Regions from separate parts of the Homo sapiens genome. Here region 2 is linked to region 1. The links are contacts of gene promoters, found by promoter capture Hi-C in human tissues and cell types (Jung and others, 2019). All regions are on one chromosome and are shown on one strand. The core of a region is centred on a gene start or on the middle of the fragment in contact, and the rest is flanking DNA. Distances in the headings are between cores, read along the strand shown. Region 1 overlaps DKKL1 (dickkopf like acrosomal protein 1). Region 2 holds the start of SNRNP70 (small nuclear ribonucleoprotein U1 subunit 70).

The links. Contacts are between HindIII fragments. The study calls those that stand out against the background at their distance.
Region 2: a contact is called between the fragment with the promoter of SNRNP70 here and a fragment that was not itself captured in region 1, in 1 of the 25 tissues and cell types used here (dorsolateral prefrontal cortex).

What each region holds. Positions count from the first base shown.
Region 1 is chr19:49,370,682-49,377,659 of GRCh38, reverse strand. DKKL1 (dickkopf like acrosomal protein 1) reads right to left here. Exons shown (of 5, transcript NM_014419.4): 5 at 2,544-2,943. The coding sequence ends at 2,632. It overlaps LOC101928295 (a long non-coding RNA gene), which reads left to right. Exons shown (of 3, transcript NR_110729.1): 3 at 6,517-6,978. Among named protein-coding and RNA genes, the nearest start is that of DKKL1, 10 kb to the right of the region's middle. The HindIII fragment of the contact is 4,218 bases long and covers 932-5,149 here.
Region 2 is chr19:49,082,972-49,089,949 of GRCh38, reverse strand. It overlaps SNRNP70 (small nuclear ribonucleoprotein U1 subunit 70), which reads right to left and starts at 4,499. Exons shown (of 10, transcript NM_003089.6): 1 at 4,314-4,499; 2 at 3,389-3,545. The coding sequence starts at 3,535. RefSeq lists enhancers at 4,314-4,403, 4,754-4,823. The HindIII fragment of the contact is 18,802 bases long and covers 1-6,978 here.

The DNA of each region.
Region 1 (6,978 bases), core at 1,791-4,290:
CGCCTGTAATCCCAGAACTTTGGGAGGCTGAGGTAGGCGGATCACTTGAGGTCAGTAGTTCAAGACCACCTGGCCAACATGGTGAAACCCCGTCTCTACAAAAAATACAAAAATTAGCTGGGTGTGGCAGCAGGAGCCTTTAATCCCAGCTACTCGGGAGGCTGAGGCAGGAGAATCGCTTGAACCCGGGAGGTAGAGATTGCAGTGAGCCGAGATCGTAAACAACCCTTCTCTGCTCGGCTCATGGGAACACTCATTTTACTTTATAGAATGAGGTACTGCCCTATTCTAGAATTGCAAATAAAAGCCAATGTGGGCCGGGTGCAGTGGCTCACGCCTGTCATCCCAGCACTTTGGGAGGCCGAGGTGGGTGGATCACGAGGTTAGGAGTTCAAGACCAGCCTGGCCAATATGGTGAAACCCTGTCGCTACTAAAAAATACAAAAATTAGCCAGGCATGACAGCGCGTGCATGTAGTCCCAGCTACTTGGGAGGCTGAGACAGAAGAATCTCTTGAACTTGGAAGGTGGAGATCACGCCACTGCACTCCATCCAGCCTGGGCGACAGAGTGTGAGACTCTGTCTCAAAAACAAAAAAAACAAAAAGACACAATGTGAGGATACAGTGAGAAAGCAGCCATCCTCAAGCCAAGGAGAGAGGCCTTAGAAGCAGCCAAACTTGGCCGGGCGTGGTGGCTCATGCCTGTAATCCCAGCACTTTGAGAGGCTGAGGCGGGCAGATCACCCGAGGTTGGGAGTTTGAAACTAGCCTGGCCAAAATGGTAAAACCCCATCTCTATTAAAAATACAAAAATTAGCTGGGCGTGGTGGTGAGCACCTGTAGTCCCAGCTACTTGGGAGGCTGAGGCATGAGAATCACTTGAACTTGGGTGGTGGCAGAGACTGCAGTGAGCTGAGATCATGCCACTGCACTCCAGCCTGGACGACAGAGCGAGACGGTCTCAAAAAAAAAAAAAAAAGTTGACTTGTATTCATTGTACTCACTGTTGGGTTCCTGAGTGTGTGAGTCTATGGGGTGATCCAGCGCTCAGCTTGGGCTTCAAGGGAGAGAGTACATGCCGTGTCCGGGTCCTAGATGGGACTCAGCACTGGGGAGGATCAGATCAGCTTTCTCCTTGATGGGTCATGACGGAGGATTCTCAGAGGGGACAGGAAATGCTCTGAGGAAGGACAAAGTGGACAGACCACCACAGGCAAGCTCTGTGAGCTTCCAAGTTTGGACGTGGCATCAGGCCTGGAAGTGAGGGAGTTTGAGGTGGTGAGCAGGGAGGGTCAGATAGAGGGACAAAGAGAGAGAAATAGCAAGTTGGAGATGGAGTCTCTCCGTCAGGGGGTAGTGAGAGAATGAGAAGATGAAGACAAGGATAGGTGGGTGTGGACACCACAGAGTCGAGGCTGGAGATGACATGGGAAGGACCTGAGTGGGGCTGGATAGTGGTCCCCCAAAGATGATCACCCCATAATTCCTGAAAACTGTAAATATGTTGTCCCGGTAGGTCCAGTCCAATCACATGAGCCCTTCAAAGCAGAGGACTGTCTCTGCCAGAAGAGGAAGGCATACCAGAGATGGGACACAAGGGGAAGTCAGAGTCCCGCCATGATACTGGGCTGTGGCTCTGGGATGTCAGGTCCACCTGCAGTAACTGGAGAGAGGCCTCTTGGAGCTAAGCGTGGAAGCATGGGTGGCCCCCAGCTGACAGCCAGCAAGAACGTGGGGACCTCAGTCCCACAAGCCCAGGAACTCGATTCTGCTTAAAATCTGAATGAGCTTGAAAGCAGCTTCTTCCCAGAGCCTCCCAATGAGAGCTCGGGTGGCTGACACCCTGTGAAACCCAGAGCTGAGGGCCAGCGGAGCCATCCTGGATTTCTGACCAGGATGATATGTGAAATAATGCATTTGTGTTGTTTTAAGTTGCCAAGTTTGTGCCCATTTTTATGGCAGTAACAGTACGGGGGCCAAGTAGAGAGGACTGGAGTGAAAGAGTTGGGGGCCGGGCACAGTGGCTCAAGCCTGTAATCCCAGCACTTTGAGAGGCTGAGGTGGGAGGATCGCTTGAGCCCAGGAGTTCAAGACCACCCTGAGCAACACAGGGAGATCCCTATGTTAAATAATACAACAATTAGCTGGGCGTGGTGGCGCACACCTGTGGTCCCAGCTACTGGGGAGGCTGAGGTGAGAGGATCACCTGAGCCTGGGAGGTCAAGGCTGCAGTGAGCTGTGATTGTGCCACTGCACTCCAGCCTGGGTAACAGAGTGGGACCCTGTTCTCAAAAAAAAAAAAAAAGCAAAAAAAAATAGCTGAGAGTTGGGAGTGCAGACAGGGCTGGAGGTGACAGGGTTGGGTGCTGAGTGGACAGATGGGGCTACAGCACAGACAATGCCTGAATGAGAAAACCAAGCCTGGGAGACTTAGGCAAGAGCTAGCACAGCCAGCTCTCATGCTCAGAGCTGGGACTGGGGGCCTTTGCCATGGCCTGGTTGGCAGGCGGTTGGGGATAAATAGTGAAAGGAGATGGTGTTGTTAGATGTAAGAAAGAACTTTATTTCCATATGGTGCTTGGGGCAGGGTCTGATGGGGGCTACAGGCAGGTGCTCCCCGGTCCCCACCCCTACAGCTGCCGAGAGGGCCTGAGGATGTACAGTAAGTGGGTCTTTCGGGGGGACAGCCTGGAGTGGGAGGAGCTCTCGGTCCCCTCTTCTAGGACGTCCTTGTGGGTCCCCTTGCGGAGTCCATCCCGGATGGCCTGCAGGCGGTGTCGCTTCTCGCTGAGCCAGTGGCCGCCCTCCAGGGCATCCTGGTGGGACCTCCGCCGTGGCAGCTTAATGATCCAGAAGGCCACCCGGGGATGGAGTTCTGTGTGGAAGCTGTCCGTGGCCTTCTGGATGGGTACCAGGGCCTCCTTCTCCTCCATCCTGGGTACCTGGGGAGGAAGAACAAGGAGACCCTCTCATACTCCAAACAGCACCCCAGGATGGTCAGTCCCCACTGACCTATTCAGCCCACTTTGCAGATGACAGGATGCTTTGTGGGTTCAAAAGCCCTGTTTGAGGTTTACAAAGCACTTGGGTTTACACTTAAGGATTAAAAATACTCTGAGGTTTACAGAATGCTTTGGGATTGGAAAATTTGTTTGGGGGCTTTCAAAAGGGAGGTAATAGAGCACTTCAGGGATTATAATGCCTGTTGGGATTCTAGAGCACTTTAGGATTAAATCCTCTCTGAGGTTTAGAGGATAGCAGTTTGAAATGTACAAAGCACTTTAGGACTAAAAGCTCTTGGGTTTACCGAAGACTCATGACCATAAATGCAATGTGTGATCCTTCATTGATCCTGAATCAAAAGCTTTCAAGGGGCCAGGTGCAGTGGCTCATGCCTGTAATCCCAGCACTGTGGGAGGCCGAGGCTGGCGGATCACGAGGTCAGGAGATCGAGACCATCCTGGCTAACACGGTGAAACCCTGTCTCTACTAAAAATACAAAAAAATTTAGCCGGGCATGGTTGCGGGCGCCTGTAGTCCCAGCTACTCGGGAGGCTGAGGCAGGAGATTGGCATGAACCCAGGAGGCGGAGCTTGCAGTGAGCCGAGATCGCACCACTGCACTCCAGCCTGGGTGACAGAGCGAGACTCCATCTCAAGGGAAAAAAAAAAAATAAAGCTTTCAAGGACAGCTTTGAGTTGAGGGAGAAAGTTTGAATATGGACTGAGTGTCTGTTTGGTCCTTGCAATTCAAAGGGTGGGCTGCTGTTGTTAGGTATGCAAATTAATAGGTCCCACCCCACTCAGACCTGCTGAATCAGTCTGCCTTTTAGTAAGATGAGGTCTGAGAAGCCGCGCAGGAGATTGTTATGTGTTAAATTGTTTCCTCCTGGCTGGACGCGGTGGCTCATGTGTGTAATCCAGCACTTTGCGAGGCTGAGGTGGGCAGATCACTTGAGGTCAGGAGTTTGAGACCATCCTGGACAGCATGACAAAATCCTGTCTCTACTAAAAATATGAAAATTAGCTGGGCGTGCTGGCGCGCTCATGTAATCCCAGCTACTTGGGAGGCTAAGGCAGGAGAATCACTTGAACCTGGGAGGCAGAGGCTGCAGTGAGTCAAGATTGTGCCATTGCACTCTAGCCTGGGCAACAGAGCAAGACCCAGGCTTAAAAAACAAACGAACAAACAACCATATTGTTTCCTCCCCAAATTCATATTTTGAAATTCTAACCTGTAATACCTCAGAATGTGGCCTTATTTGGAACTAGGGTCATTGAAGATATAATTGGTGAAGATGAGGTCATTAGGTTGGGCCCTAATCCAACATGACTGTGTTCTTTTTTTTTTTTTTTTGAGATGGAGTCTCACTCTGTAGCCCAGGCTGGAGTGCAGTGGCACAATCTCGGCTCACTGCAGCCTCTGCCTCCTGGGTTCAAGCGATTCTCCCACCACAGCCTCCAGAGTAGCTGGGATTACAGGGGCATGGCACCATGCCAGCTAATTTTTGCATTTTTAGTAGAGACGGGGTTTCACCATGTTGGCCAGGTTGGTCTCAACCTCCTGACCTCAGGTGATCCACCTGCCTTGGCCTCCCAAAGTGCTGGGATTACAGGCGTGAGCCACCATGCCCAGCCTATTTATTTATTTATTTTTTGAGATGGAGTTTCGCTCTTGTTGCCCAGGCTGTAGTGCAATGGTGCTATCTTCGCTCACCGCGACCTCCACCTTCTGGGTTCAAACGATTTTCCTGCTTCAGCCTCCTGAGTAGCTGGGATTACAGACATGTGCCACCATGCCCGGCTAATTTTGTATTTTTAGTAGAGACGGGGTTTCTCCATGTTGGTCAGGGTGGTCTCGAACTCCTGACCTCAGGTGATCTGCCCGCCTCGGCCTCCCAAAGTGCTGGGATTATAGGTGTAAGCCACCACTCCTGGCCATACTTTGTATTTTTTTTTTTTTTTTGAGACGGAGTCTCGCTCTGTCGCCCAGGCTGGAGTGCAGTGGCACGATCTCGGCTCACTGCAAGCTCCACCTCCCGGGTTCACGCCATTCTCCTGCCTCAGCCTTCTGAGTAGCTGGGACTACAGGCGCCTGCCACCATGCCTGGCTAATTTTTTTGTATTTTTACTAGAGACGGGATTTCACCGCATTAGCCAGGATGGTCTTGATATCCTGATCTCATGATCTGCCTGCCTCGGTCTCCCAAAGTGCTGGGATTACAGGTGTGAGCCACTGTGCCTGGCCCCATATTTTGTATTTTTAGTAGACGGGGTTTCGCTACGTTAGCCAGGCTGGTCTCGAACTCCTGACCTCATGATCCGCCCGTCTCTGCCTCCCAAAGTGCTGGGACTACGGGTATGAGCCACTGTGCCTGGCAGGAGGCAACTTCTCTCTAGTGGATAGAGCCCAGGGATGTTATCAAATATCCTACAGTGCACAGGGCAGCTCCCACAATAAAGATTATCCAGCCCCACATGCCAATGATGCCAACCTTAAGAAATTTTGGTTTATGGAAAAGAGACTATAGGGATATTTATTATACTATTTTTTTTTACCATAAAGACACAGGCACATGCATGTTTATTATGGCACTATTCACAATAGCAAAGAATTGGAACCAACCCAATTGTCCATCAGTGATAGACTAGATAAAGAAAACATGGCACATATACACCATGGAATACTATTCGGCCACAGAAAAGGATGAGTTAATGTCCTTTGCAGGGACATGGATGAAGCTGGAAACCATCATTCTCAGCAAACCAACACAAGAGTAGAAAACAAAATACTGCATGTTATCACTCAAGTGGGAGCTGAACAATGAGAACACATGGACACAGGAAGGGAAACATCACACACCAGGACCTGTCGGTGGGGGGTGGGGGGTCAGGGGAGGGATAGCATCAGGAGAAACACCCAATGCAGGTGACGGGCTGATGGGTACAGCAAACCACCATGGTACATGCACCTATGCAACAAAACTGCATGTCTGCACATGTACCCCAGAACCCAAAGTATAATTTAAAAAAACATAAAAATACTATGTCTTAATATAACTTACTGTACCATGGATTTGTTAAAAACTAAGGTAAGTCATTAAGAAAATGATACAAAGCATAAAAGATCATTTATCAAAATTACAAAAACTCTAAAACCAGTGGACAAAGATCCAAAAAAAACTAGTAAAACAATTGAAAAATTATTTGAGTAATAAAATGTAACTATGATGACGCAATGACAGCTTGCATCTTAAAACAGGTTAAAGAAAGAATATTTTTTAAAAAATTAAGAGAATGTAAAAGTCCAGAGAGAGTAGCAAAATCCCCAAAACTCTCACGGTCCAGATGGTTGCTGGGCCAGGGTGAGGTCTTGTGACCCGGCCCTTCCAGGTGTTCAAAAAATCTGTAGGGACTTCTAGCATAAAAAACAAAGGTCACAACAGGTCAGGTCAGGCTCTTCAGCATCCTCATCCTCCTTGAACTCACTGGGTTACATTTCTTCTGCCTTTTCAGGCTTTGTCTCTATTGTTTTTTCTGCAGGTGCTGGGAGAGTACTTGTTGGCATATGCTGATGGTCATCTGCATGATTGGACTCTTCCATATCTGCTCCAGAAGCTTGAGTGTCTCCACTACAGGAAGAGTCTTTGTCATTACTGGTTTTAGAAAAGCTGTCCTCAGAGCCACCATTTTTCTTGATGCCTTTCACGGTGACAACGGCCAGCACTTGCCCTGAGGACATCTCTTCAGGAAGCTCTGCTACAAGAATGGCGAAGCAATCTTTTTTCTTGGCATCTCATTTTGCCCTGTGAAGAGATAGGGCTGCTTCTGGGGACTTTTCACTGATCACCATCCCCGCCAGGTCATCCTTGAAATCATTTACCTGGACTCCCTAGGGTGCCTTCACATTACATGGGGCCTCCTTTTCCTTGATGTTGTTGGCAAATTCTTTCACTGGATTATCTATGGGAACTTTTT
Region 2 (6,978 bases), core at 3,250-5,749, 290 kb after region 1:
TGCACACGCCTGTAATCCCAGCACTTTGGGAGGCCGAGGCAGGCGGATCATGAGGTCAGGAGATCCGAGACCATCCTGACTAACATGGTGAAACCCCACCTCTACTAAAAATACAAAAAATTAGCCGGGCGTGGTGGTGGGCGCCTGTAGTCCCAGCTACTCGGGAGGCTGAGGCAGGAGAATGGCATGAACCCAGGAGGCGGAGGTTGCAGTGAGCCGAGATCGCACCACTGCACTCCAGCCTGCACAACAGAGCAAGATTCCGTCTCAAAAAAAAAAAAAAAAAAAAAAAATCCTGTCTCAAAAACTAAGCATGGTCCATGGACCAGTACTATCTAAACTGTTGCTGGACTGTGATAAGTACAGAAACCAGGACTAAGTGTTCAGGAACTTCTACAGTAATTTCACAATTTGATGTCCACTGACTCTTAATACAAATTTGGTCTTTTATTCTGTAGGTCTTTTTTTTTTCTGAGACGAAGTTGTGGTCTGTTGCCCAGGCTGGTGTGCAATGGCGCGATCTGGGCTCACTGCAACCTCCGCTTCCCAGGTTCAAGCGATTCTAAGCCCTGCTTTCCCCCCTGTGCCCGTCTCTCTAAAAGGAACCCAGCAACTGACTAGAATCGTTCAAGCGGTTCTCCTGCCTAAGCCTCCTGAGTGAGTACCTGGGATTACAGGCACACGACAGCATGTTGGCTAGTTTTTGCATTTTTAGTAGAGACAGGGTTTCACCATGTTGGCCTGGCTGGTCTTGAACTCCTGACTGTAGATCTTTCTTTAAAAAGTAATTCTATCATATTTATCAAAAGCAAACAGATTGGAAACAGTATCTGTCCTTCACCAAAGACAGTTTGAAAAGCACTGGTACAGGTGACATCTAGCTTTATAGTATTTAGGAAACACCCTGTCTTCCATATTTAGGAAAGACATTGCTTCTCACAGCTCCAAGTATCACTCACATTGAACAAAGTGCCAGAGGATGTGATGGGAGTGGAGTGATGGCAGGGCCCTGCTTATGAGTGCCAGTGAGGATGACCAGGCCTAAAGCAACATAAGCTGACAGAACAGGGCTCCAAAGCCCACAACTGCACACCCTCTGAGGGCCAAGGCAGCTCTTAAAGGTCTCATCAACCACACATTAAATAGGAACTGGCTGGTAGGGTGCAGTGGCTCATGCCTGTAATCCCAGCACTTTGGGAGGCCAAGGCAGACAGATCACAAGGTCAGGAGTTTGAGACCATCCTGACCAACATGGTGAAACCCCGTCTTTACAAAAAATACAAAAATTAGCCAGGCATGGTAGCGCGTGCCTGTAATCCCAGCTACTCAGGAGGCTGAGGCAGGAGAATCCTTTGAACCCGGGAGGTGGAAGTTGCAGTGAGCCTAGATCACGCCACTGCACTCCAGCCTGGGCAACAGAGCGATACTCCATCTCAAAAAAAAAAAAAAAAGGTCGGGTGCGGTGGCTCACGTCTGTAATCCCAGCACTTTGGAAGGCCAAAGTGGGCAGATCACAAGGTCAGGAGATCAAGACCATCCTGGCTAACACGGTGAAACCCCATCTCTAAAAATACAAAAAATTAGCCAGGCGTGGTGGCGGGCACCTGTAGTCCCAGCTACTCGGGAGGCTGAGGCAGGAGAATGGCATGAACCCGGGAGGCGGAGCTTGCAGTGAGCCGAGATCACGCCACTGCACTCCAGCCTAGGCAACAGAGCGAGACTCCAAGTCAAAAAAAAAAAAAAAAAAAAAGTACCTGGCTCCCAGGCATGGTGGCTCACACCTGTAATCCCAGCACTCTGGGAGGCCAAGGGGGGTGGATCACCTGAGGTTAGGGGTTCGAAACCAGCCTGGCCTACATGGTGAAACCCCATCTCTACTAAAAATACAAAATTAGCCAGGCGTGGTGGTGCATGCCTGTAATCCCAGCTACTTGAGAGGCTGAGGCAGGAGAACTGCTTGAACCGGAGGCTGCAGTTGGCTAAAATCACGCCACTGCACTCCAGCCTGGGCAACAGAGCAAAACTGTCTCATAAATAAATAAATGGTAACTGGCACATGACCTGCATCATCAAAGGGCACCTACCACCCGCCTGTGCCCATTAAGTTAATTGGCCAGTAATATCTCTCAAGTGCGGGTTCACCAAGGGTGGCAAATCCCACTGAAGACATACCTTTCTGTTATCTACGAAATTCTGCTCTGCAACTCCCTCGCCTCCAGCTGCCCTTACCTACCCAATGCTAGAACGTTCTTCTTGTAACTTCCGACTGTGTGCCAGCTTTTCTCAGGTGTGCTCTGATGCACCTAAGAGATGACCCTTGTCATCCCATTTCACAAATAAAAACACAGAGGTCCAGGAGCCTAAGTCATTCATTCCTATTTATCCCAAAGGTGCAGAGCTAAGATCCCCATCTGCAGTTTTAAGCCCTCCAATACTCAATACTGGGTGCTAAGCCTTTATGAACATCATCTTATTAACAATAAAAGTAGTAAACAGAGTAACAAAGGCTGACATGTGCTGACTGCTTGGTGCCAAGCCCCCTGACATACAGTTTGCCATTTAATTCTCCACCAACATTATAAGGGTGCTACCACTATCCCCTTGCTAAAGATAAAGAAACCAATGCATTAAGAGGATACAACATTTGCCCAAAGTCAGAGCTGATAAATGGTGTGGGTTAGGCATGAATCCTCAACCACTACTCACTGAATTTTCACAAAAATTCTACAAAAGGTGTACTATCAACCCCACTTTTTTTTTTTTTTTTTTTTTGAGACAGTCTTGTTCTGTTGCTCAGGATGGAGTGCAGTGGCGCGATCTCGGCTCATTGCAACCTCCGCCTCCTGGGTTCAAGTGATTCCCGTGCCTCAGCCTCCCAAGTAGCTGGAATTACAGGCACCATGTCCGGCTAATTTTTGTTATTTTTAGCAGAGACGTGGTTTCACCATGTTGGCCAGGCTGGTCTTCAACTCCTCACCTCAAGTGATCCGCCTGCCTCGGTCTCCCAAAGTACTGGGATTACAGGCGTGAGCCACCGTACCGGGCCACAACCCCACTTAAAAAAAAAATTTTTTTTTTGAGAGACGAAGTCCTGCTCTGTCACCCAGGCCGGAGTATAGTGGCACAATCACAAAGCACTCCAGCCTCCGACTCCTGGGCTCAAGCAATCCTCCCACCTCAGCCTCCTGAGTAGCTGAGACTACAGACGCACTCGACCACACCCGACACCCGGCTCCAACCCCATTTAAAACAGAGAAACTGAGGATCACAAAGGTTAAGCCCCTCGCTTAAATCACGCAGCTGGCAAAATGGCCAGAAGCTGGACTCGCAAATCCAACCCGTTGCTCCCCAGAACCCAAACCATTCCTGGCCTGCTCAGTGAACTCACCTCAAACTCTCGAATGTACGGCGCAATGCCACAATAAGGTTGATTGTGGTGTTTTTCATGTGGCAGTTTCTCCAGGGGTGGCAGGTATGGAATAGGGTCACGGGGGGCAAAGAGGGCCAGAAGGTTGGGCGGCAGGAACTGGGTCATCTTGCCAAGTCTGAGAGCAGAAGCAGGACAGCCTTAGGTTAGATCGGGTCTGCACAGAGAAAGCCCCTGTTACTCCTTGACTCTCAAAATAAGAAAGACAGGAGAAAAGTCTCGGAATTAAAACAGGCTCTGTAAGGGCAGAGAACAGTCCTGTGTTGCGGAGAAAAGGGTACGTCTTGGTGGGGGTGGAGGTGAAAGGCCGGTAAAGAAAACAAAAATAACGGCTGGAAAAGGGTTCCTGAAGAGTGAAGTCTCAGAGTCCTCTGACACGAGCTGTGGGGCGGAGAGGTTCCCTGGGAATTTCTGGGGAAATCAAGGACCCGAGGAGGGAGGCCCAGAGCAGCTGTGGCTGCTCGTCCCGTGCCGTGGAGGGCAAATTACGAGATGCAGTTTGCAGGGTCCTGGGGATCGGAAGTTTCCAAGCAAAGAAAGAGAAACATAAGGAGCGAAGCCCCAAAACCAAGTGCTTGTGGGTAACAGACCTGGACCCCGCAAAAAGCGAAAGGAATTATGGGTAAGGGTCCAGGACAACATAGACAAACGAAAAAGAAAAAAGGCCACACACCGCAAGGGCCTGTGGGTAGGGAACCACGAGGGCGCTGTGGGAAGCGGGCGTGGGTGCCCAGAGATTTCGGGGTCCGGGAAAGGGATGCAGAAGGGACCTGTGGCGGGGACGCGGGAAAGGGGCCTGGCCGCGGGGAAGAGGACCGGGCCCACCGCTGGGGCTTCTGGGTAGCGGCCCCGCACCCCGTCGGGCCACTCAGTCACACTCACTCACCGCGTAGCGCCCTCCTCGCTCTGGCGTCTGTCCGGAGGCTCGCGGCGGCTGCGGCAGCCCCTCAGCAACAACAACTCCTGCTTCGGCTTCCACTCCGGGGGCGTCCACGTCCGTCTGATTCCGTCGCCCGCTAAGCGAGCGCACCAGGCCGCTGCTCAGCCACCCGCGCGGCCTCCGATAGCGACTGGAGCAGGGGGTGGGTCCCGGCCGCAAATCCCTCCGCCGTCCTCACTGCGCACGCGCCGTGCGGTGCCAACAACAACCCACACACTAGGACCCGGCGCTGCCGCGGGCACAGCGCACGCGCGAGGTCACTACCCCGCCTTTGGGCACCTTGAGTACCTCAGCCGCGGGGGGCTGGCTTCTGCACTGCGCGCGCGCGCTTGCCCCAAGCCGCCCCTCCACCTCCCGCTTTCCGCGCCGAACCGCCTATGTCCGCGAGACTCTCCCTGATGCTCCGCCCCTTTCCGATCACACTTCCCGGATCTTTCGCGCATGCGTTTTGCGTAGAGAACTGTAACGTACCTCTCCGCCGCCTAGCAAAGAGTCCCTAGGTGAACAGCCTGATTGCGTTGATGTCTAATCTATTCAATCAATAACTATTCATCGAGCATCTCGTGTGTGCTAGGCACTGTCTGGGCTTTGGGGGTACAGCACGTGATTAAAGCAAAGTCTTCTGCTGCTAGGGCTTACATTGTACTGGGAGAGACAATAAAAGCATTTAACTGAATAAAGATAATTTGAGGCCAGGCGCGGTGGATCACGCCTGTAATCCCAGAACTTTTGGGAGGCTGAGGCGGGCAGATCACCTGAGGTCAGGAGTGTGAGACCAACCTGACCAACATGGTGAAAGCCCGTCTCTACTAAAAATACAAAAATTAGCCGGGCGTGGCCGTGCGCGCCTGTAAGCCCGGTTACTCTGGAGGCTGAGGCGGGAGAATCGCTTGAACTCGGGAGGCGGAGGTTGCAGTGAGCCGAGGTCGTGCCATTGCACTCCAGCCTGGGCGACAGAGCGACTCCGTCTCAAAAGTAAATAAATAAATAAATAATAAAAGATAATTTGAGATAGTGGCCAGCATAATGAAGAACGATGGAGCAGAATAAAGGGATGGGAAGTGAGAGCGAGGCTGTTTTAGAAAGGGTGATAATGGAAGGCCCCTCTGAAGAGGTAACATTTGAATAAAGGACAGATAGAAGCGAGATCTGGGGTGGGGCCGGGGGGGCGGTGTTTAACAGTAAGTGCAAAGGTCCTGAACTGAGACCAGATGGCAGGAATCTCAGGTTGTTGGCCATGAGATCAGAGAGCTGGCACTTGTTATTTAGAGCCCTGTTCTTAAGTATTGTATCTTAAGTTTTGTGGATGGATTCAATAGCCTGTTTAATAACTACAGAAATTATTGCAAATTAAAATGACTAATTTTATGTTTCAAGAAAAAGGCCGAGTGCAGTGCTCACGCCTGTAATCCCAGCACTTTGGGAGGCCAAGGCGGGCAGATCACCTGAGGTCAATAGTTCGAGACCAGACTGATCAACATGGAGAAACCCCGTCTCTACTAAAAATACAAAATTAGCTGGGCATGGTGGCACATGCCTATAATCCCAGCTACTTGAGAGGCTGAGGCAGGAGAATCACTTGAACCTGGGAGGCAGAGGTTGTGGTGAGCCAAGATGGCACCATTGCACTCCAGCCTGGGAGACAAGAGCAAAACTCCGTCTCAAATAAAAAAAAGAAGTGGGAGGATCGTTTGAGCCGAGAAAGTTGAGGCTGCAGTGAGCCAAGATTGTGCCACTAGACTCCAGCCTGGGCGACAGAGCGAGACTCCGTCTCAAAAAAAAAAAAAAAAAAAGAAAGAAAAGGGCTGGGTGTGGTGGCTCACACCTGTAATCCCAGCACTTTGGGAGGCCGAGGTGGGCGGATCACCTGAGGTCAGGAGTTCGAGACCAGCCTGGCCAACATGGTGAAATCCCATCTCTACTAAAAATACAAAAATTAGCTGGGAGTGGTGGCACGCACCTGTAATTCCAGCTACCTGGGAAGCTGAGGCAGGAGAATTGCTTGAACCCGGGAGGCAGAGATTGCACGACTGCACTCCAGCCTGGGCAACAGAGTGAGAATCTGTCTCAAAAAAACAAATAAAATAGGCCGGGTGTGGTGGCTCACACCTGTAATCCCAGCACTTTGGGAGGCCAAGGTAGGAGGATCCCTGAGATCAGGAGTTCAAGACCAGCCTGGGCAACATGGCGAAACCCCTTCTCTACTAAAAATACAAAAATTAGCTGGACATGGTGGCATGCACCTGTAATCCCAGCTACTTTGAAGGCTAAGGCAGGAGAATCGCTTGAATCTGGGAGGTGGAGGTTGCAGTGAGCTGAGACTGTGCAACTGCACTCCAGCCTGGACAGAGCAAGACTCTATCTCAAAAAATAATAATGATGGCTGGGCACGGTGGCTCACACCTGTAATCCTGGCACTTTGGGAGGCTGAGGCAGGCAGATCATGAGGTCAAGAGATCGAGACCATCCTGGCCAACATGGTGAAACCCTGTCTCTACTAAAAATACAAAAATTAGCTGGGTATGGTGGCACGTGCCTGTTGTCCCAGCTACTTGGGAGGCTGAGGCAGGAGAATTGCTTGAACCCAGGAAGCAGAGGTTGCGGTGAGCCA